Regions from separate parts of the Homo sapiens genome. Here all the other regions are linked to region 4. The links are contacts of gene promoters, found by promoter capture Hi-C in human tissues and cell types (Jung and others, 2019). All regions are on one chromosome and are shown on one strand. The core of a region is centred on a gene start or on the middle of the fragment in contact, and the rest is flanking DNA. Distances in the headings are between cores, read along the strand shown.

Region 1 (4,676 bases), core at 560-3,059, 360 kb before region 4:
AGATATACGTTTAAAGGAAGAAAATTCCAACACATACAACAACATGGATGAACCTTGTGGGCATTATGCTTAGTGAAATAAGCCAGACACGAAAGGACAAATACTATATGATTCCACTTACATCAGGTATCTAGATGAGTCGAATTCCTAGACAGAAAGTAGAATGGTGATTGCCAGGGTTTGAAGGGAGCAGGCAGTGGGGAGTTACTGTTTAATGGGTACACAGTTTCAGTTTTACAAGACCAGAGGAGTTTTGTATGGCTGGATGGTGGTGATGGTTGCACAGCAATGTGAACGTTTTGTTTATTTGTTTGTTTTTTTTTGAAACCAAATCTCGCTCTGTCGCCCAGGCTGGAGTGCAGAGGCACAATCTCGGCTCACTGCAACCTCCACCTCCCTGGTTCAAGCAATTCTCCTGCCTCAGCATCCCGAGTAGTTGGGATTACAGGCAAGTGCCACCACGCCCAGCTAATTTTTGTTTCAGTAGAGATGGGGTTTCGCCCTGTGGGTCAGGCTGGTCTCGAGATCCTGACCTCAGGTGATCCACCCGCCTCAGCCTCCCAAAGTGCTGGGATTACAGGCATGAGCCACTGCGCCTGGCTGTGAATGTTCTTAATGCCACTGAACTATACACTTAAAAAATGGTTAAGATGGTAAATTTTGGCTGGGCGTGGTGGCTTACGCCTGTAATCCCAGCACTTTGGGAGGCCAAGGCTGGCGGATCACAAGGTCAGGAGATCGAGACCATCCTGGTCAACATGGTGAAACCCCGTCCCTACTAAAAATACAAAAATTAGCTGGGCATGGTGGTGTGCACCTGTAATCCCAGCTACTCGGGACCCTGAGGCAGGAGAATCACTTGAACTAGGGAGTCAGAGGTTGCAGTGAGCTGAGATTGTGCCACTCCACTCCAGCCTGGGTGACAGAGTGAGACTTGGTCTCAAATTAAAAAAATAAAAAATAAAGAAAGATGGTAAATGTTATGTTACATGTATTTTGTCATAATTTTTAAAAAATCAAAAAGCTTGTCTGCTCATCTGTAAGGTGGGGAGGTGATGGTTGTGAAAACCAGATGAAGTGAAATACATAAAACACTACAAAGTTTGGTGTGTAGTAGGTGCTTAATAAATGATGATTATCATTATGGTTTTACAAAGTGGTCAGTAAATAACAGATTAACTGATTAATGGACTAAGAGATATATTGTTTCTCCTCCAAGGAAAACTTTCTTCATTGATATGACAGAGAATGGAGTGAAGGGGTGGCTTCATCGGAAGAGTTTGGCAGGCTTTTTATGTAGAGGCGAATGGGGTTGACTGACAGCACGTGGCGGCCCATTGCAAGGGTCCCTCCCACTGCGTCCAAACTTGGCCCATTAGAGTCATTTCTCTGGCATCAGCATCATCTCCAGAAGGCCCCTCTGTAAAAGTGCATATGTTAACCTAGAGGGAGAATCCATTAGCACCCTAATCCCCATTAGCAAGGAGTGTGTGGCTGGATTATCTTGCTGTCACCTGGCAGGAAGCGGGATCCTGTAGAGAAGGACACCAGTTAGCATATTGTCGCGGGGGAGAGGGGTGGGAAAGGCGAGAGAACAGCATGTGGTCCAGAGGCCATACCCAGATGGAGGCTGCAGTCAGCTCCCCAGTCAAAGGCAAAGCCCAAGTCAAAGCCATGCTTCCCTCTTGCCCACCTGCTCCAATGCCACCCACAGAGAGTGCGCCACAGCTCACAGGATGCAGGTCTGGTTGAATCTTAACAATAACTTTGTAAGGGAGGTGTCATTAGCTCCATTCTCCTGGCAGGAGGATGAGGCTCAAGGCAGCTAAAGGCTTTTGCTGAACATCAAGTGGTGAGCCAGGACTCAATGCCAGATCTTCTTGTTTCCCTGTTAGGTGTATGTAGCACAACTGGTATCTGCAGACTATGCTGCTGGAAGGGCTAGCCGTCACTGTTATCACAGCGACTGCTGCCTGAGATATGCCAGGTACTGCTGCAAGAAGTTTACAAATATAAGCTCACTTGATCTTCATAACATACTACCTAGGTACAATCATTATATTTATTTGACAGATACAGAGACAGAGGGGACACAGAAAGGATTAGTAACTTGCCCCAAACCACACAGCCAGCAAGGTGTAAGTGAGCACCTGCAGTCTAGATGAGACACCACTCAAAACGTCATTTTTCTGGCAGCCCCGTGCAGTTACCACAGTGGTCACCCCAGTGGTCAGCTAAAGGCCAAGCCCACCGTTTCTCACTCCTCAGTGGCACAGCTGCCCACCAACACCCGGCCCCCAGGGTCACTGAGAACAGGTCCCCAGCCTGCTCTGGGTCTTCTAGGTGGACTTTTCCTTTGAGATGGGGCCAATCCATCATTGCATTGGTTTTGGGGGACAGGGGTCTAATTTCATTGTAATCTTCTCCATTGCTATTCAAGCAATCACAAAAATCATATTTGTCTCCTGGGAAGTTTTATTAAAACGGAGTATTATGTCCAAGCACGGTGGCTCACGCCTGTAATCCCAGCATTTTGGGAGGCCGAGGCGAGAGGATCACGAGGTCAGGAGATTGAGACCATCCTGGCTAACACAGTGAAACCCCGTCTCTACTAACAATACAAAAAATTAGCCAGGTGTGGTGGTGGGACTACAGGTGTAGTCCCAGCTACTTGGGAGACTGAGGCAGGAGATTTGCTTGAACTCGGGAGGTGGGGGTTGCAGTGAGCTGAGATAGTGCCACTGCACTCCAGCCTGGGCGACACAGCGAGACCCTGTCTTAAAAAAAAAAAAAGCATTATTTATTTTGCTGATTTTAGGAGCTTTTATCTCATCAATTATTTTATTGTTTACATTTCTCTTATTTCAATATGTGTATATTATTTATAATATTTACATATAACGAATGGTTGTTAAAATATTTAGACAGTTTCATTTTGTTTGTTTTTCCTTAGGAAACTTGCTCATAACACTTAAATTATAGAATATTCTCCAAACTTATTATTTGTTATGTGAAGTTTTCTTCTACCATTCAACCACACAGAAAATGATAAATTTTTTTACATGTAATGCAAATGTGTAAAAATAAATTTTTAAAATATTTAGGCAGTATATAAAAATTTCACAAATCTGGAGACATCCAGACATGGCTTATCACCCTGGTTTTACAAAACCGTGAATTCCTGGCACCCAAGTTCAAGGTGGGCATTTGGCTCATTGTAAGAAGTCCTGATTCAGCACCTTAGCCCACTGAATTGCTTTGGAATTTCTGGAATAAAACATTCTACTTCACCCTCAATTCTCTATGCCCAGAAACCATCCTGGCAGCAAGGCAGAGGGTCGATTCACCACCATTTATTATCTCTGTGTGTGAGGCACCACACAGAATACATAAATACAAACTCTCCTCTTTCAAAAGAATATATCTGGGAAGATCATGCACATTTAGTTCAAGGACAGTGAGCAAACAGAAGTCAGGTGACTGTGAAGAATGGGAGACTGGTTAAAATCAGGAGCAGGTGGATGGTTCGTTTCCAAGAAGCTGAGCTGGGCTGAAGCACGCAGCGTGTCCGTTGCTGCTCCACTGAACCTCCAGCTGGATTTCCATGTGGTGGTGCAGGCGAGGGGCCGTGCCGATTCATTATGACAAAATGACATATCAAAAAGGTTTTGCTGGCCTGCGAAAGATGCCCAACAGCAGATATGCATTATCTTATAAGTTAAGAATGCTGTCTTTTAGAGGGTTAGCTGTTTTGTTTGTTTGTTTGTTTTGAGACGGAGTCTTGCTCTGTCGCCCAGGCTGGAGTGCAGTGGCTGATCTCGGCTCACTGCAAGCTCCGCCTCCCGAGTTCACGCCATTCTCCTGCCTCAGCCTCCCGAGTAGCTGGGACTACAGACGTCCGCCACCACGCCCGGCTAATTTTTTTGTATTTTTAGTAGAGACGGGGTTTCACCGTGTTAGCCAGGATGGTCTCGATCTTCTGACCTTGTCATCCACCCCCCTCGGCCTCCCAAAGTGGTGGGATTACAGGCGTGAGCCACCGTGCCCGGCCGGTTAGCTGTTTTTTGACTTTGAAAATAGAAACCATTTCTGACAACAGTCTGAGAACTATGTGATTGGCACATTTATCGATGCTGTGAGTCTGGCTGTGATTTTTACTGTGCGCACAGCCCAGGACTTCTTGCCTGGAGACACAGGTCTAAACAACACAAAGGCCTTCACTGAGCCTAATTTTATCTCCGTCTGCACCTCATTACTCTGTGGTAGCTTGTTTCGTGCAAACAATTGCTGGTTTCTAGCATAACAAGGAGGCCCGTGGTGTCTGTATCGAACATATTCCTCAGAGAATGAGAAATCTCCAACCGGGAAAGAGGAGATTCTTGTTAAGGCCTGGAAATAGGCTGAAATGTAAATGTGTGTTCCCTTCCACAACGTGCCTAATTGCCCATAAATGTCATTAAGTCAAGAAACATTTTCCACCAAATTAACTTTGACTCATGATGTCTAATTAGCAGGAGAAGCTGGAAGATAACAACTTATCAGTCACTGTTTAAGAAAACATGTTTAACGGGTGACTTTTGGCTAGCAGCAATGTTGAACCAGGTATTGTAACTGTCAAAACCATGCCTGAGCCCAGCAATTAAGGGCAATGTGTTTTTTTTTTGGTGCCAAGAATT
Region 2 (4,447 bases), core at 478-2,977, 370 kb after region 4:
TCGGGAGGCTGAGGCAGGAGAATGGTGTGAACCTGGGAGGTGGAGTTTGCAGTGAGCTGAGATCGCACCACTGCACTCCAGCCTGGGCGACAGAGTGAGACTCCGTCTCAAAAAATAAATAAATAAATAAATAAAAAAGAAACGTCATCTCTACTAAAAAAAAAAAAAAAAAAAAAAAGAGCTGTGCGTGGTGGCGCATGCCTGTAATACAAACTACTCAGGAGTCTGAGGCAGAAGAATTGCTTGAACCCGGTGGGGGCAGAGGCTGCAGTAAACCAAGATCGTGCCACTGCACTTCAGCCTGGGCAACAGAGTGAGACTGTGTCACAAAAAAAAAAAAAAAAAAAAAAAATGATAGCAGAAGGGAAGCAGAAGTGAGGTGGGGTGACCAACCCAGGTTTGGGGAACTGTTTTTTATCAAGAGGCTTTCCTGTCCCCTCGATGGAAAAAGAAAAGAAAAAAAAAATAAGAGCTTGTCCCAAAACAGTGTTTTTCTTAAATATCTGACTCATCTTCTTTTTAACTTAAGAAGAATGGATTCCATTTTATCTTGTTTAAGCAGAAAATGAAGGAAAAATAAAAAATAAAAATCAGTTTGGGGTAATGACAGATGGTGAGAAAGAAGAAGAAAAGGATGTGGGGTTGGGAGAAGGAGAAGAGGGAAGGAGAGAGGGCATGGAGCAGATGGTGGGAAGTCCAGCAGGGCGGGAAGTGCAGAGGCTGAGGCTGGGACCAGCAGGGAAAGGCTTGAGGGCGAGATGGCGGGAGCAGGGCAGCCGCGTCTGGGAAGATGGGCAGGTGCCCAGAGCAGCTTGGAGGCAGTCGTGGCGGGAGGTGGGTTGGGGCCTCTGAGGCTGTGGTCCCAACCATGGGCTCTGGAGTCAGACCTGGGTTCCAGGGTTACCTCTGTCACCTATTAGCTCTGAGACTTGGGTCAAGTCACTGAATTTCTGCATGCCTGAGTTTCCCCAATAGGAAATGGGGATAATAATATATGTAAAACTCTGTTTGACACATAGGAAGCATTAATAAATGCTAGTTCCATGACTGTCCACTTGGTCTGCAGACTTCAGAGGGTTACAGACACTCATGTGTTCAGCAATCATTGAGCGCTCTTTGAAACATTTGTTAGCCAGTTAATTGCCTTTTGCAGTTCAAGTCCTCTCATCTGTAAACCTTTCTAGGAGACTGCCGATCAGCTCACCGCAAGCAGAGTACTCTTAGGGCTGTGGCTGCAGCAGCCGAGTCACATGATCCCTGGGCCTGGTAACACCTTGCGGTCTTCATAAGTCTTTGCCTATACAGTAGACCATCCTGGACGAAGACCCATGACTGAATCTAATAGGTGCCTAGTCCATAGTAAATCAGGCTTTAATTTTAGGCCTGTCTGCTGGTTGGGTAACTCTGTTCTACAAGTGTGGGTCTGCAGAACCCAGGAACTAATTCCTCAAGACAATCACTGTCTGCAGATGCTCTTTCTTCTTTTCTTTTCTTCTTGTCTCCTTCATCCTTTAATAAAAAACAGGCCAGCGGCCGGGGCCGGGCACGGTGGCTCATGCCTATAATCCCAGCACTTTGGGAGGCCAAGGTGGGTGGATCACTTGAGGTCAGCAGTTCGAGACCAGCCTGGCCAACATGGCGAAACCCCATCTCTACTAAAAAAATAAAAATTAGCTGGGCATGGTGGCGGGTGCCTGTAGTCCCAGCCACTCGGGAGACTGAGGTGGAGGTTGTAGAGCTGGGATTGCACCACTGCACTCCAGCCTGGGCTACAGAGTGAGACTCTGTCTCAAACAAAACAAAACAAAATAGGAGAAGGAAAGGGTGAAAGTACTTTTTATTCACTTGTTAAAAAAACTACTCCTCATAGGAAAATGATGGAATGATGGAATTTCTTCCTGTTTCCATTCATTGCAAGTTTATAACGTGGCTATCCAGGGCTCTCATCCCCCCAAATTATTGGTGTCATCACCCTTGAGCACATTTTTGCTCGTTGTGGTATTTCACACCAACCCCTCAATGGGGCAGTGGCCTTTGGGCCATCCTGAGGACACCAAGCTGCCACTGCTCCCCACACCCCAGAGGCAGCCAGTGCTGATCTCCCCATGAGGGCATCCACTTCAGGTGGAATCGCTGACTGCTCACACCACATCATTTATGGTCCCTAAGTTTTTCTCCTTGGCTTGCCCGGTCCAAGGGACTTTATTTTAGCCAAAAATGTGGGAGAAAGAAAAGAAAGTGATCTGAAGTTTTTAAAGCCTAATATAAATATTGCAGAGCTTCCTTGGAATTCAATAGCCCGCCCCGTACCTCAAAGGCTTCTCCAACATGACCATGAAAGCAGCCAAAGGCATTCAATAGGGACATCCTCCCAGCCTTGTGTTAAAGTCATAGGTTATACCATTTTGTTCCATCTACCCATCCATCCACCCATGATCACTAACTAGGATAGCTGAACACACCCATGGCTTCATGTTGTGGTCCTGCCATGTAGTACCTTGCTGTCCTTACCGTGTATAAGCTCAGTGCCATGCCCTTCTTCCAGATGCTGGTGTTAAGGGTTCACATGTTGAAGTTGGGAGAGGGGAAGCACAGTCCTAGTTACCATAGCTCTGAGCACTCACACTGCAGGCAGACCCCAGAACACACACTTCCCAGTCCCATCAACACCTCTCCTGAATTCCAGGATATACATTTTTTGGGTTCATTGGCCCATTATCATAGTAATAGACCTCTTTTCCGAACTCCTCTTAATTTAGTTAACTCAGCTCTAGCAATGAAGCAGCGAATCACAGAGATACTTCAAACAGTCATTTATACCTGGCTTTTGCTGAATCTCATGGGATTATTTTGCCAAGGCATTTGTTTTGCCATCTTAATTATGTTCTTTTTAGCCAAAAATCATCCTTCCCCATCCTCTGGCAATAGCAACTTCCCTTGGGCAGAAGTGTCTCCTGGAAATAGGATCAGTGCTCAGGCCACATCAACCTGGGGCTTTCACCACCGATAATCTGTGTAGTGAGGCATCGACACAGGGGACCCATTTGAGTTGTTCAAGAAAAAAACTCCATATTTCTGCACAAGAAAAACAAATTGTAACAAACAGCCACTCTGCCAAAGAAAAATGCTCTGGTGCTACCTCTCTGTAGCCCTAGACTCATTTCTTTCTCCATTCCTTGTCTCCCAAATAGATCCTTTAGTGGCCCTTAAGGCTGTGCCCCTCACACACATTCTGTTTCTGTGCAACCTAAGTGTGCTGTGGTGCTGTCAGATAGCGTGAAAGCAGGGGGCTCACCTCCCGTGTTTCCGTGCAGAGCGCTGAGAGTCCGCAAGAAGATGTCCGGGGAGAAGATGCCTGTGAAGATGATTGGAGACATCCTGAGCGCACAGCTGCCGCACATGCAGCCCTACATCCGCTTCTGCAGCCGCCAGCTCAACGGGGCTGCCCTGATCCAGCAGAAGACGGATGAGGCCCCAGACTTCAAGGAGTTCGTCAAAGTAAGGAGCCAGGCTGTGCAGAGACTGGGCCCCAGAGTGGCGATCTTTGGGCAGCTGGATGTGTGAGGGGCTAATTCAAAAGTCTGCAAGAGTGTTCCCACTAGAGGCCAACAGGGCCTAGGGTCTTGGCTAAGCCTTAGGGGACTGGCACTCACTGGCAAGTGTGGCTGTCACCAAAGGGGTGGGCTTGGAGAGGAGGGGTGAACCCTGGGCTTGGAAGCTTTGAAAGTGTCTTTAGGGATCTGTTTTCCAGATGCTATTGGTGTTATTTGGATGCATGTTTAAATCTTTCATTTCATTTGCAAGGCCCAGGCAGGTCTTAGATTTCCTCTTGTGTTTAATCGCCACATCCTCAGTTCTTTGCTGGTCTCTGCCCTTCACTTGCAGAGGGAATGGCCAGGACTCCCAGTGGCCCCTTCATTCCTTTCGCAGTTGGTTCTGCTTGATGTGCTCCCGCCTTAGACAGCCTGTGGGAGTCAGTGTGGGATGCCAGGACCTCTTCCTTGGAGGTAGCAGGGATCTGGAGAGTTGGGAGTCCACCAGGGGATGTTTGGGGAGGTAATGCGGATACTGCTGGAAGACCTGCAGCTCTGGGACTTGGCCTTGGCCAGTGTGGGTCTCTGCTGGCCGTGCTGGGCCATTCAAACAGCCCCCACATCTCCTGGAGAAAAAAAGGAGGAAGAGAATAAAATAGCTTCTGTGAAACAGGTATCTTTTGATGAATAAACAACAAAATAATAATAACAGGCATATCTTTGGATCTCATGCATTTTGGAGACAGGCCATCCTCACCTGTCCTAGAGTGGTGCTTGTGGAATCACTGTGGTGAGGCACAAGCGCAGCCTCTTCTTGGTCAGAGCCTCATGTGAGCTTGTTGTTTCTGCCTCTCATGGTGTTTCTCAGCCTAGACTTGCCAGCCAAGGCATGGGGCACTCTGAGGTCATTCCAA
Region 3 (4,618 bases), core at 246-2,745, 490 kb before region 4:
GCTTGTTTGGTTTTTTTTTTTTTTTTTAAATAAATTGGTTTTGTTTCTCAGCTCATTTCATAGACAATTTGAGGCAGCCAACAATGCCAATACATATAGTAAAAAATAAATGTAGATTTTTAAATGGAGTTAAAGAGTAAGAATCAATGTGAGCTAAAATAAGAATATAAGAATTTTTAGTCTAAGCTTTCTGGCCACCAAAGTATAAAGGGAATATAGAACAATTTACATAATAGTCATTATCAGAGAAAAACATATCTCACCAGTAGATGCAAGTTTTCTTTATTGTAAAACAAATGTTTACATACTTGAAATCCTGTCTTTCAAAGGTAATCCTGGCATTTAGTTCAGTGCCTGATGAAAAGAATGCCCTGGGTAAATATTTATTGGATGGATAGATCCAAGATCTCTCTTCTAGCTACTTTGAAATATATGACTATTGTCACCCTACTCTGCTATTGAACATTAGAATTTATACCTTCTCTCTAACTACATGTTTTTACCCATTGTCCAACCCATGCATAGCTGGATAGATGGAAATGGAATAAAACTCTGCTACATATATTATGTGATTTCTCCTTATTAAAAATTACCATTTTTTGGAGAACAGGGACAGCTTTCTATTGAATGCTATAAACTCTCTCTCCAGAAAAGTGAATATATACACAGAAGTCTGCATATCATATAAAGGGGCTGAGAGATTCCCTGAAACTCATCCACAGATCACCTTGGGGGCTAATAGGTTTCAGCTGAGCAACCGTTTTTCATCAGCAGTGCAGGAGACAGTATAATGTAGCAAATAAAATACCATCCGAGGCATCAGACAGACTTGTCCGAATCCACTTGCTGTCTGGGTGAGAAAAAGAAAAGTTATATAACCTTTCTGAGCTTCAGTTTTCATAACTGTAAAATGTAGATAAAATGCCTACCTCATAGACTTGTTGGGAAAATGAAATGGCATAGTATATTTCTAGCACTTAGCATAGCACTTGGTACATACAAAGCCCTCAATAAATTAATCCCAAAAAATAACTCCCATTTACTGAGTACTTCTATAGGGCAGCACCTTGATGTCATTCCATCTTTATCTCAACCCTGCAAATTTGATCATCACATCATTACTCCAGTTTTATAGATGAAGCTGAATCACAAAAGTTCTGAAATTTACCAAAGCTCACACAGCCAGAAAATTACAGAAACAGAAGATGAGCCCAGGTCTTTCAGTACCAAGAATGCTAATATCAGGTTCTGTCTGTTTTTCCAGCCATTTTCCTCCACTTGTCTTCTGGTAGCTCATATCTATGACTCCACAAAGGACAGGGAAGAAGAGAAGCATCACACAGGCCGGAAAAATTTAATACCTACTGCCAGACCTCTAGTCACTGGTCTGGACTTATGGCCAAGGAGTGGCTGACACCTTGAGATACACATCTTATATCCTCAGCTGTCATTGGTTTAGTGGGGAGGCTCTTAGTCTGGCTAAACACAGGGAAAGCTGCAGCTACCTCTCCCATTAAAATAATTTGAAATCTCTTTATTTATTTATTTTTTTTGAGAAAGAGTCTCACTCTGTTGCCCAGGCTGGAGTGCAGTGGCACAATCTCAGCTCACTGCAACCTCCGCCTCCTGGGTTCAAGTGATTCTCCTGCCTCAGCCTCCTGCGTAGCTGGGACTACAGATGTGCGCAACTATGCCTGGCTAATTTTTGTATTTTTAGTAGAGATGGGGGTTTCACTATGTTGGTAAGGCTGGTCTCGAACTCCTGACCTCGTGATCTGTCTCCCTCGGCCTCCCAAAGTGCCTGGATTACAGGCATGAGCCACCGTGCCCAGCCAATAATTTGAACTCTTTATGCCAGGTTAGCAACCCATATGTCACAATGTAATTGGCAACTGTATCTTGTAGCCTGCCTAACATCCATTCCCCCTTCTAGTTGCCTCCATCTCATTTTCTTTTAACTATACTACCTTCCCATGTGCCTCTGAAAAAGTGAGCTCTCCCTTCTACTCCTGAATGGGCCCTGATTGGTGAATCCAATCAGCACATCCCATCCAACTGGCCACAGTGACTGGCTCAATGAAAAATAACATGAATCCAGCCAATGGAAGGTTAGGAGAGGTTTACTGGGAACTTAGCAGGAATAAAAGTGCTTGATCTTCTCATAAAACTGTCAGGAGCAGCTGGGCACAGTGGCTTACACCTGTAATCCCAGCGCTTTGGGAGGTTGAGGCAGGAGGATTGCTTGAGCCCAGGAATTGGAGGCTGCAGTGAGCTATGATTGTGCCACTGCACTCCAGCCGGGGTGACAGAGTGAGACCCTTAATAAATAAATACATTAATACACAAAATTTCTATTATAGTACTTTTAAATTACAGCACATAGTGTATGTATATCTATTACAGCAGTTACTGTATTTGTTCTTCTGACAATGTCCCTAAGTAGACTACTGTCTACATCTATTGTCTTAACCATTTTTCTATGCTCAGGGCCTAACACTAGTAGCATTTAACAGCTAGTGAAGAGACGGATGAACACATCCACATCCCTGCCAACACTGGGTATTTTCTGGGGTTTTTATTATAGTGGCCATCCTGCTGGGTATGGGGTGATATCTCATTGTAGGTTTGATTTACATGTCTCTCATGGTTAGTCACGTGGGGCATCTTTTCAGATACTTGTTGGCCATTCATATATCATCTTTGGAGAAATGTGTATTCAAGTCCTCTGTCCATTTTAAAATCACGTATCCTTTATTTTTTTAAACCCATCTGAGTTGGGTTTTTTTTCCTCGTTACTAAGAGATTCCAAATTGTTATGTTATGATGTTTTCCATGGCAAGTAATAGAACCTCCCACTGAGGAGTCTGACTTTTAGTTGTGATTTTTCAGGCCTGGCTGTGGGAAACTACAAGGCTGTACCTGGCAGGCCTTATGGGGAGACTCCCACTCCACACCAGACCTGGCACAGCCAGGGCAGTGGCACTCCCAGGAGGGAGCTGCGGGCAAGGTATCAGGCCCCTGGCCGGCCATGCTCTTACATGCACCTGTGTTCCCAGCCCTGCACCTTCATTCCCGGGTCTCTGTGTCCATGGTCTTCTTCAGGCACCTCTGCCAAGGCCTCCTTATGGGGGAATGATATAGTTTGGCTGTGTCCCCACCCAAATCTCCTCTTGAATTTTAGCCCCACAATTCCTATATGTTGTGGGAGTGACCAGGTGGAGGTAATTAAATCATGAAGATGGGTCTTTCCTTTGCTGTTCTCATGATAGTTAATAAGTCTCATGAGATCTGATGGTTTTATAAAGAGGAGTTTGCCTGCACAGTTTCTCTTCTCTTGTCTGCTACCATGGGAGATGTACCTTTTACCTTCCACCATGATGGTGAGGCCTCCCCAGCCACGTGGAACTGTGATTACACTAAACCTCTTCCTTTCATAAATTGCCCAGTCTGGGGTATGTCTTTATCAGCAGTGTGAAAACAGACTAATACAGGGAAGGAGGGAGAAACCTTGAAGATGCTTCCCTGTGACTCTGGCTCAGCACTCAGTGCTTTTTCCCACTGAGCCCTTCTCCCTTACCCCTTATCCCCAAGGTCCATACAACTCCCGGAGCCATTTTTTTGGGTCTCTGTCAACAATGAGGTGACCACATCTGCATGAATCCACTGCCCCTCCACAGGTTCCTGTTCCATGGGGGAAAATGGACAGAGGAGTTGGCACTTCCTCTGGTTTTAGCCTCTTGCTTGTACCATTGCTGTAAGTGATTACAGGCTTAACCCTCATTTTGGGCTTGTTGCTTTAATTGGCTACTCAGACACCTGACAGCTCAGGTCTCTCTCTCAGCTCAGTGGAGCCCCTGACGCCATTCAGCTGACTTAAACAACAAGAGGAGTCACTCGGACATGAAGTCCCTAGGCAGGGTGGACTCCAGGCATGGTACGTTAGTGCTGCGTTCTCTTTCTCCAAGGTTCTCTGTGGAGTCACCCCACTCTGTGAACTGGCTTCATCCTCAGGCAGTTAGCAAGATGACTGGCACAGTCCGAGACCCAGAGACATCCAGCAAAAGACCTGGAGCTGTCTCCTGCTCTTGGCTCTTTTTAAGAGCAAGGAAACCTTCTTCAGTGGTCCCTGGAGGTTTCCCCATGAGCGTGGTCTGTAACTTCACCACATGAATCACATTAACACACAAGAGAAATGGGAGGCAGAGTTTACCCAGCAGGGCCTCAAGTCACCACCGTCCCTAAGGGATGAACACCTGAACATAGCTGAGGCTCAATTAACAAGAATGACAGAGGGAGTGGATTTTGGGTAACCTAACAGTACCAACTGCTATGGCCCAAATGTTTGTGTCTCCCTATAAAATTGTATGTTGAAATGCTAATCCCCAAGGGATAGTATTAAGAAATGGGGCCTTTGGGAAGTGTTTAGACCATGAGGGCAGGGCCCTCTTGAATGGGATTAGTGCCCTTATAAGAAGGGCCTGAGGGAGCTTGGTTGCTCCTTCCATCAAGTGAGGATGCAGGAAGAAGGAACTTTTTGTGAAGAATGGGCCCTCACCAGATACTGAATATGCCAGCACTTTGAGGTTGGACTTCCCATGCTCCAGAACTGTTAGAACTA
Region 4 (4,665 bases), core at 670-3,169:
TTTTTTTTTTTGTCTGAGACAGGGTCTTGCTCTGTTGCCCATGCTGGAGTGCAGTGGCACAATCGTGGCTCACTGCAGCATCAACCTCCTGGGCTGAAGTGATCCTCCCACCTCTGCCTCTCATGTTGCTAGGACTACAGGCGTGCACCACCACACCTGGCTAATTTCTGTATTTTTGTAGGGATGGGGTTTCGTCATGTTGCCCACCCTGGTCTCCAACTCCTGAGCTCAAACGATCTGCCAGTTTCTGCCTCCCAAAGTGCTGGGATTATAGGGGTGAGCCACTGTGCCCAGCCACATTCTTTTTTCTTTTCTTTTCTTTTCTTTTTTTTTTTTTTGAGACAGAGTCTCACCCAGGCTGGAGTGCAATGGCATGATCTCGGCTCACTGCAACCTCTGCCTCCCGGGTTCAAGCGATTCTCCTGCCTCAGCCTCCCAAGTAGCTGGGATTACAGGTGCACGACACCACTCCTGGCTAATTTTTGTATTTTTAGTAGAGACGGCGTTTCACCGTGTTAGCCAGGATGGTCTCGATCTCCTGACCCTGTGATCTGCCCGCCTCGACCTCCCAAAGTGCTGGGATTACAGGCGTGAGCCACCGCACCCAGCCCCACCAGCTGCATTCTTATAGCTATATTTCACTGATGTGGGCAGAAAAGTGGAAGCTGATGAAGTTTAGTGTTAACATATTGTGGGGCCAGGCACGGTGGCACACGCCTGTAATCCCAGTACTTTAGGAGGCCGAGGTGGGTGGATCACCTGAGGTCAGGAGTTCGAGATCAGCCTGGCTAACATGGCAAAACCCTGTCTCTACTAAAAATACAAAAATTAACTGGAGGTTGCAGTCCCAGCTACTCGGGAGGCTGAGGCAAGAGAATCGCTTGAACCCGGGAGGTGGAGGTTGCAGTGAACCGAGATCGTGCCACTGCACTCCAGCCTGGGCAACAGAGTGAGACTCTGTCTCAAAAAAATATAGATAGATAGAATCTGGATTCTACCCCTCACTAACTAACCGTATATTTTACAAGTGGAAAGTTCTTAGAGATCATCTAATCCAATCTTCTCATTTAATGAGAAAACGTAGGTCCGGAAGGTTAAGCAATTTAACCAAGTCCCATAACAAGGTGTAAGCAAAATGGTTAGGGGTGGGCACAGTAAAAAAGGAGGCTTGCTTAACTGTCTATACCTCCAGCCGATTATAAACTGCACGAGAGTCTGCATCATCTCAAGAAGTCTTCTCATAAGACGACTTATGGACAAGGTACGTACCTGGTCTGATACTGGATTGAATAGAATCAAGTGTCCAAAAGACTTTAAGCTCCACAGCTCGCTAGGAAGGAGCTATCTGCCAGAGGCCAGAAAAACCATGATGAATTGTGAGGCCTCCCAACACGTTTGCTGCTATTGCAATAACATGGTCTCGAAGAGGAGGAAGACTTGTACACTGACAATGGCCAAAAAATACTGGAAGTGGCTTAATTGGAATTGGGATATATAAACGCTAAAACGGAGCTCCTGAGACCCCCTATTTTCTAGGCAATCGGTGCCAACGGTCTGGGAGCCGGCTGCGAAGGTGGTTATCATGGCAAGGGAGGTCGGTCCTGCCCCGCCCCCTCCTCACCTGCGCAGACCTGGGGTAGGGGTTCCGCGGCTCCCGCCCCCCTGCCGCGCCTCTGCGCATGCGTGCGCGGTCCGCCCTTCACTGCGGGTGTCCCTCCCACCGCCTCCAGCTGGTGCCTCCGCCGGGCTAGACCATTTGCCACTTTACACTGAGGGGCTCGGGGGTACGGAAGGCAGAATCGTACCTGATTGGGACAGGTGACCTTACCAGGAAAACGGACAATCTTCCGCCAAACGAACTTTACCCCGGAGGACCCAGGCAGGGCACCTCGGGAGCCTTCGTCCCGACCGGGGACCACCAGCTCCACCTCCGTCCCCGCCCCGAGCGGAGGTGGTCCGGCCGATTGGGATTGTGGGAGATGTAGTTCGCTAGAAGGGGCGATGTGCGCCTGCGCCTCTCGGGAGGGACTTAGGGGGCGTCGAAAATGATGTAAAGACCGAGTTGGCGGCGTGGGGAGTTGTGGCTCGGAGGGCGAGGGTAACTTTCTGGGGGCAGGGGAAGGCAAGGCTGTTTCCCCGGAACGGGACCGGAACAGGTTTATTCGGGGTCACAGAAGGAGTCACCTGCGCAGATACATGAGGCTTAAAACCTGCCCTTTTATTAATTCAAGTACTGTTGAGGGGCTGGCGACAGGCCAGAGGACAAAATCAAAATAGGGATCTTCTGGCTTGGAGTTCAACCACTGACGTGGGGACTGAGCATTTCCCCTCTCTGTACAGGAAGCAAGTTTTTTAACAAGGAAAAAGAAAAAGGATAAAAAGAAAAAGGCAGAGGCTTGGGAGTTTTCAGATCTGGGTTGAAAATCCTGTTTCTTCTGCTTGCACCTTAGGCAAGATACCTGCAAAATGAGAGTTGCAATAAATAGTAAACTATAGTAAATAGTATGCCATTGTGCTAAGTGCTTTATGTATATTCTCATTTACTTTTTTTTTTTTTTTTTTGAGACAGAGTCTCGCTCTGTCGCCCAGGCTGGAGTGTGGTGGCGCGATCTCGGCTCGCTGCAACCTCCACCTCCCGGGTTTAAGCTATTCTCCTGCCTCAGCCTCCCGAGTAGCTGGAATTACAGGCGCGCACCACCATGCCCAGCTAATTTTTTTGTATTTTTAGTGGAGACCAGGTTTCACCATGTTGGCCAGGCTGGTCTCGAACCCCTGAGCTAAGGTGATCTGCCTGCCTCGGCCTTTCAAAGTGCTGGGATTACAGGCATTCATTTAATCTTTACAACAGCCCTCTGAGATAAATGCTGTTATTTTCCCTATTTTACATATAATGAAATAATAATTGTATCAACTTCATTGACTTTTTTAGGGGGAGAATTACACAATGTATGTAAACCACTTGGCACTGTGCCTCGCACATTAAGCAATATTTTTTGTTATGACTGTGTCTCCTAAAAGGAGCCAGAAATAGGTATTAGCCTCCTCAGCTTCTACATCATAAACATTAGAATCATTTATTGCCATCTATGTAGGAACACAGAAAAAGATACAGTATAAACTCTGATTCTGAGGGCTTTAGTTATAAGCAAACAATCAACAAAATAACTCATGTGAAAGAAAATAGGATTTCTGGCCGGGCGCGGTGCTCACGCCTGTAATCCCAGCACTTTGGGAGGCCGAGGCGGGCGGATCACGAGGTCAGGAGATCGAGACCATCCTGGCTAACACGGTGAAACCCCGTCTCTACTAAAAATACAAAAAATTAGCCAGGTGTGGTGGCGGGCGCCTGTAGTCCCACCTGCTCGGGAGTCTGAGGCAGGAGAATGGCGTGAACCCGGGAGGCGGAGCTTGCAGTGAGCCTAGATCGTGCCACTGCACTCCAGCCTGGGCGACAGAGCCAGACTCCGTCTAAAAAAAAAAAGACCTGGCCACTAAAAAATTTTTAAAAAGAAAAATAAGGCCAGACGCAGTGCTCACGCCTGTAATCTCAGCACTTTGGGAGGCTGAGGCAGGTGGATAACCTGAGGTCGGGAGTTTGAGACCAGCCTGACCAACACGGAAAACCCCCATCTCTCTAAAAATACAAAAAATTAGATGGGCGTGGTGGCGCATGCCTGTAATCCCAGCTACTCGGGAGGCTGAGGCAGGAGAATCGTTTGAACCCTGGAGGTGGAGGTTGCAGTGAGCTGAGATTGCGCCACTGCACTCCAGCCCAGGTGACAGTGCGAGACACTGTCTCAAAAAAAAAAAAAGCCACCAAGCAAAACTTCCTAAAAGTTGCCAGTAGCCATCCCCCTCTTCTGCTTCCAGGCCCAGTAAGGTGCCTTATATCTCTCAATCTCATCCTTCTCCCAGCCTTGCTTCTAAATGCACTCCAAGGCCAGGCACAGTGGCTCATGCCTGTAATCCCAGCCCTCTGGGAGGCCCAGGTGGGAGGATCACTTGAGCCTAGGGATTTGAACCAACCTGGGCAACATAGGGAGACCCCATCTCTATTTATTTAAAAAAAAAGTAAAATTAAAATACACTCCAAGTGTCAACACTTCACGCAGAAAACAGAAATGTTGAAGTTAGCCTTGCTTCCCCAGCTGCTCAAGGACCTTTTGAAATCTTCAACTGAGTGCCCAGCGAAGGCTGGGGAAGGGGCGGGGACTGTCCATCCTCCTTCCCAATACCAGTGGTTTATCAGTGTATTCAGCCCACAAAGCAAGTCCCTTCTCTAGGTACAGGGGAAAATTTCATTAGTAAAAAAATAAGAATTTTCCCCTTCAATCCATTAAAATTATAAAAATACATAAAACAAGATAGAAATGACAGAATGTTCTCAATAAATTGACCATATAAAAGGCCATACTCTGGCTGGGCACGGTGGCTCACGCCTGTAATCCCAGCACTTTGGGAGGCCGAGGTGGGCAGATCACGAGGTCAGGAGATCGAGACCATCCTGGCTAACACAGTGAAACCCTGTCTCTACTAAAAGCACAAAAAATTAGCCAGGCATGGCACCGGGCAACTGTAGTCCCAGGTACTCTGGAGGCTGAGGCAGGAGAATGGCATGAACCCAGAAGCAGAGCTTGCAGTGAGCCGAGATCGCGCCACTGCAAT
Region 5 (4,412 bases), core at 199-2,698, 390 kb before region 4:
AGGCTTTGGTGAGCATTTGGGAAATGACTTTAAAGGGAGAAGAGGGGATTTTTCTGAGGCCAAAATGAAGGAAAAGGTATCATAAATCTTTGGTGTTTGGGCCTCTGCAAGACAGGCATCTCACCCCGTCCTGATGAGCCTGGGTCCCGGGACCACTTGCTTCTGCAACTTGCCTTTTCTCAAAGTCCTACTTTTGGGTTTAAAGCATTTCTCTTCCTTTTTTGTCATTGCCTTCTTGCGTTGACAGAGATTTTCTGAGTTTGATTTGCCCCTTGAAAAGAATAGATTGATCATCTGTAAAGACGTTGCAATCAGATGTCAAACCAATCCAATCGAGGAAAAAGGCTGGGAGAGGTGAGTTTGTGAGGGAGAGGTAGAGCATGGATCAACTCCTCTGTCACCAGACAAAGCTAATGTGCAATGGCCTGTGGCTTTCTTTTGAGCGATTCACTAATCAATGTAAATGCAGGCTCTAAGGTCGGACAAGCTGAAGTGTCTGGGGGCCTTGGTAACTTGCCCAACATCCAGTGTGACCAAGAAAAATACTCCCCAACGATAGCCTTCTAGGTTTGCACCGTATCATTATGACACTTAAAACGAGACTTTTTGATTTCAGTTGATTGCAAATTGCCCGTCTACGTTCTTAGAAGACTGAGGAGGATGTATGAGACGAAGATTTAAAAAACGCAGCTGGGTGCGATGGCTCACTCCTGTAATCCTAGCGGTTTGGGAGGCCGAGGCGTGTGGATTGCCTGACCTCAGGAATTCGAGACCAGCCTGGACAACATGGTGAAACCCCATCTCTACTAAAATGCAAAAAATTCTGGCCGGGCACAGTGGCTCACGCCTGTAATCCTAGCACTTTGGGAGGCCGAGGCAGGCGGATCACCTGAGATCAGGCGTTCGAGACCAGCATGTCCAACATGGTGAAAACCCGTCTCTACTAAAAACACAAAAATTAGCCAGGCATGGTGGCATGTGCCTGTAATCCCAACTACTTGGGAGGCTGAGACACAAGAATCGCTTGAACCCAGGAGGTGGAGATTGCAATGAGCTGAGATCGTGCCACTGTACCCCAGCCGGGGGACAGGGTGACACTCTGTCTCAAAAAAAAAAGGAAAAAATGCCCGTGAGTTCACTAAGGGTTGCCTGAAACAGCAGAAGGGCCCAGGTTTCTTATTTACCAGAAATGGAAGTGATGCTAACCAGAGTTCCACACGTGCCTTCAGTATGTGCTTCTTGGGGCACCCTTGGGCAGAGGGGTCCTCCTGGTGATGATGCAATGAGACCACACTCTCGGGGCACGAATGGCAACTGCACAAAGTTGAGGCATCTGCACTCACACGGGGACTTATTCTGCCCATTCCCTTAGCACCAAATTAGAAAGAAAAAGATTGCCCCCTGCAAAACAACTTGCTAGATTATTCCAAGGCAGGATAAGGCACAGAAAATATGCCATGTCTGCCTTTCATCACCTTAGGTAGGAGGAGAGCAAACTCCAGTTCCTTTCTTGGCCCTTTTTTTAGACGGAGTCTCGCTCTGTTGCCCACACTGATCACCGATCACTGCAACCTCCGCCTCCTAGGTTCAAGTGATTTTTCCCCTCTCAGCCTCCCTGAGTAGCTGGGATTACAGGTGCTCGCCACCACGCCCAGCTAATTTTTCTATTTTTAGTAGAGACGGGGTTTCACCATGTTGGCCAGGCTGGTCGAACTCCTGACCTCAGGTGATCCACCCGCCTCGGCCTCTGAACGTGCTGGGATTACAGGCGTGAGCCACCGCACCAGCCTCTTAGCCCTTTTTGAAGTTATTTCTTGAAGGTGGATGTGTACGTCAGGTCAGACTTCCTCTCTTAAACAACCTACCCTCGGCTTCTAGGAAGGCAGCAATTGCTTCATTTTCAAGCAAACAGAAGAGAAATACAGAACATTCCTAGGGTCTTTTACAATCACACAAAATATAAATGAGCATTTTAAAAACTTTTATTTCTAATTTTTGTGGGTACATAATAGGTGTATATATGGATTACATAAGATATTTTGATACAGGCCTGCAATGCATAATAATTACATCAGGGTAAATAGGGTATCCATTTATCCTTTGTGTTATAAACAATCCAATTATACTCTTTTATTTAAAAACATACAATTAAATTATTCTTTACTGTAGCCATCCTGATGTGATAGCAAATACTAGGTCTTATTTATTCTAATATTTGTACCCATTAACTATTCCCCCTTCCCTACTCTCCCAAATGAGCATATTTTTAAAACATTTACTGTTTCTTTCTGATTATAAAAGACATGCAGGTTCATATCAAATTCAAATACATACTGAAATAGAAAAAGAAACTCTATGTCATGTATAACCCACCTCCCAGGGATAATGACTGTGAACAGTGAGTAGTGCTTCCTTCCCGTTGTTTATTCTACACATATATAATCGAACACACAACTCGATTTTTCACGTAGCTGGAATTATATGGGCTGTATTATTCCATTTCCTTTCCCTTAGTTTTAATATTCCATCAGAGCATCAGGAAATGCAAGGCTCTGAGGAATTCTGAGAATAGTAATAATCATAGTAGGAGTAATGCAGTCAGTAGTAGCACTCTAGTTTGTATTTATTGTAGTCTGGATTCCACATAGGGCTTTTCTCCAGGGAGCTGAAGGTATTTTATATTTCCTTCCTAATAGACCTGGAACAAGGAAAACTATGCGACTAACTGTCAAAAGAGATGAGATGGGCCTGACACAGTGGCTGACGCCTATAATCCCAGCACTCTAGGAGGCTAAGGAGGGAGGATTGCTTGAGCCTAGGAGTTTGAGACCAGCCTGGGCAACATGGTGAAACCCTGTCTCTATAACAACAACAACAAAAATTAGCCTGGCATAGTGGCACACACCAGTAATCCCAGCTACTTGGGAGGCTGAGGTGGGAGGATCGCTTGAGCCCAAGAGGTTGAGGCTGCAGTGGCCCTGATCGCAGCCACTGCACTCCAGTCTGGGCAAAAGAGCAAGACACTGTCTCAAAAATATATATAGAGAGAAAAATAAATACATAAAGAGATGAGATGACTTCCTTGTGGAGTCGCACACCTAAGTCATAACCAGGAGCAGCCCCGAGTCTGTGTCCACAGAGGTGGGCAGGAGTCACCTTGGGACATGTGGCCTTCCTCTGCAACAGGCAGGTGGCACTGAATATGCACAGCTCCTCCTTGGAGGTGGGGGTGCTGCTCTCCAGAGCCTCCATGCACACGCTCCCCTGAGGCCTGAGTCACCCCGAGCTGGGCGTGAGGGGGCCAACCATGGTCCCAGCTTCCTCTATCCGCCCCTGCTGCGGCTGTGACTGCCGCCGCGTGGACCCGGGCTGCCCTGCCGGCCCATGGCTCCCGCTGCGCCCCGGCGGGCTGACAGTTGTAATGCTGTCATCCGTGTCCGCTCACAGAAAGAGCAGGAAGCCCAATTGCCCCACACAAAGGCCTGAAGTGCTCGTGTGAAAGGTCACTAAGTGCTGTCATCTGGGCCAGGGAGGGGGCCGAGAAGGCGGCGCCCACTGAGAACAACAGAACCAGGGGCAGGATCTTCACCTCGGCCTGTGGCCTGGGGTGTCCAGAGAGAGAGACAAAGACTCAAGTGGGAGCTGAAGGGACTTGGGAGCGAGGACGCCGGAGGGATGAGAGGCGCCTGGGCCGGTTCCTTAGGCAACCAGTGGCCCGTGGGCCTCCATAACTCTGCCCAGAGGCTGACAGCTCCCATTCATCCCCCAGGCCGGGCAGGTGGCAGGGCGGCCTGAAAGGAGCGGGGAAGCAGGAGGACAGGTCCCAGAAGAAGCCCCTGGGACGCTCCAGGCTCTGCGGGGAGGCCCCATCCTCCAGCCTCCTGCTAGGGGGATGGGAGGTCAGCAGGCTGTTTGTGGAACCCCAAGAAACACAGTTTAATGATAGCAAAAACTACTAAGCATACTATTTAGTGTCAAATTAGATGCCGTTTAATGTCACATTTGAGTTTATAAATGTGGCCACGACTACAAAGATTTAAGAAAACAGAGCTTGGAAGTAAAACTGAGCAAGAAAAAAGCCAGGGGGGTGGGGGCTGTTTCCTTGCCCTCAACAGTCTCAGTGAGCTGGGGGCAAAGACCACAGCCATCCATTTTTCATTAGGACACTTGAGTGTGGCCCAAAGGACGCCAGGGCTCTGGCAGGACATAATTTAGGAACTGCGGAAGACAGAGCCCCAGCGCAGTTCTCTGCTATCTTGAGGCATGCTGTGCAGTTTCAAATATGGGTCTGAAAATCAAATAGCGATCTTGAGGTCTTGGGCAATTTATTTAAACTCTCAGTGCCTTGGTTTCCCACCAGTAAAAAAAGGGTTCTTGGCTGGGCATGGTAGCTCAAGCCTGTAATCCCAGCA

Evidence for each region. Contacts are between HindIII fragments. The study calls those that stand out against the background at their distance.
Region 1: a contact is called between a fragment that was not itself captured here and the fragment with the promoter of DNAJC28 in region 4, in 3 of the 25 tissues and cell types used here (hippocampus, mesendoderm cells and spleen).
Region 2: a fragment that was not itself captured here is called in contact with the fragment with the promoter of DNAJC28 in region 4 in 1 of the 25 tissues and cell types used here (adrenal gland).
Region 3: a fragment that was not itself captured here is called in contact with the fragment with the promoter of DNAJC28 in region 4 in 3 of the 25 tissues and cell types used here (dorsolateral prefrontal cortex, mesenchymal stem cells and mesendoderm cells).
Region 5: a contact is called between a fragment that was not itself captured here and the fragment with the promoter of DNAJC28 in region 4, in 1 of the 25 tissues and cell types used here (H1 embryonic stem cells).

Annotation. Positions count from the first base shown.
Region 1 is chr21:33,132,559-33,137,234 of GRCh38, forward strand. No RefSeq gene overlaps it. Among named protein-coding and RNA genes, the nearest start is that of LINC01548, 35 kb to the right of the region's middle. The HindIII fragment of the contact is 9,056 bases long and covers 1-4,676 here.
Region 2 is chr21:33,861,837-33,866,283 of GRCh38, forward strand. It overlaps ITSN1 (intersectin 1), which reads left to right. Exons shown (of 40, transcript NM_003024.3): 32 at 3,315-3,498. Among named protein-coding and RNA genes, the nearest start is that of ATP5PO, 52 kb to the right of the region's middle. The HindIII fragment of the contact is 6,469 bases long and covers 1-4,447 here.
Region 3 is chr21:33,001,046-33,005,663 of GRCh38, forward strand. No RefSeq gene overlaps it. Among named protein-coding and RNA genes, the nearest start is that of OLIG2, 23 kb to the right of the region's middle. The HindIII fragment of the contact is 7,473 bases long and covers 1-4,618 here.
Region 4 is chr21:33,489,797-33,494,461 of GRCh38, forward strand. It overlaps DNAJC28 (DnaJ heat shock protein family (Hsp40) member C28), which reads right to left and starts at 1,920. Exons shown (of 2, transcript NM_001040192.3): 1 at 1,806-1,920. The HindIII fragment of the contact is 10,582 bases long and covers 1-4,665 here.
Region 5 is chr21:33,098,097-33,102,508 of GRCh38, forward strand. No RefSeq gene overlaps it. Among named protein-coding and RNA genes, the nearest start is that of OLIG1, 30 kb to the left of the region's middle. The HindIII fragment of the contact is 8,649 bases long and covers 1-4,412 here.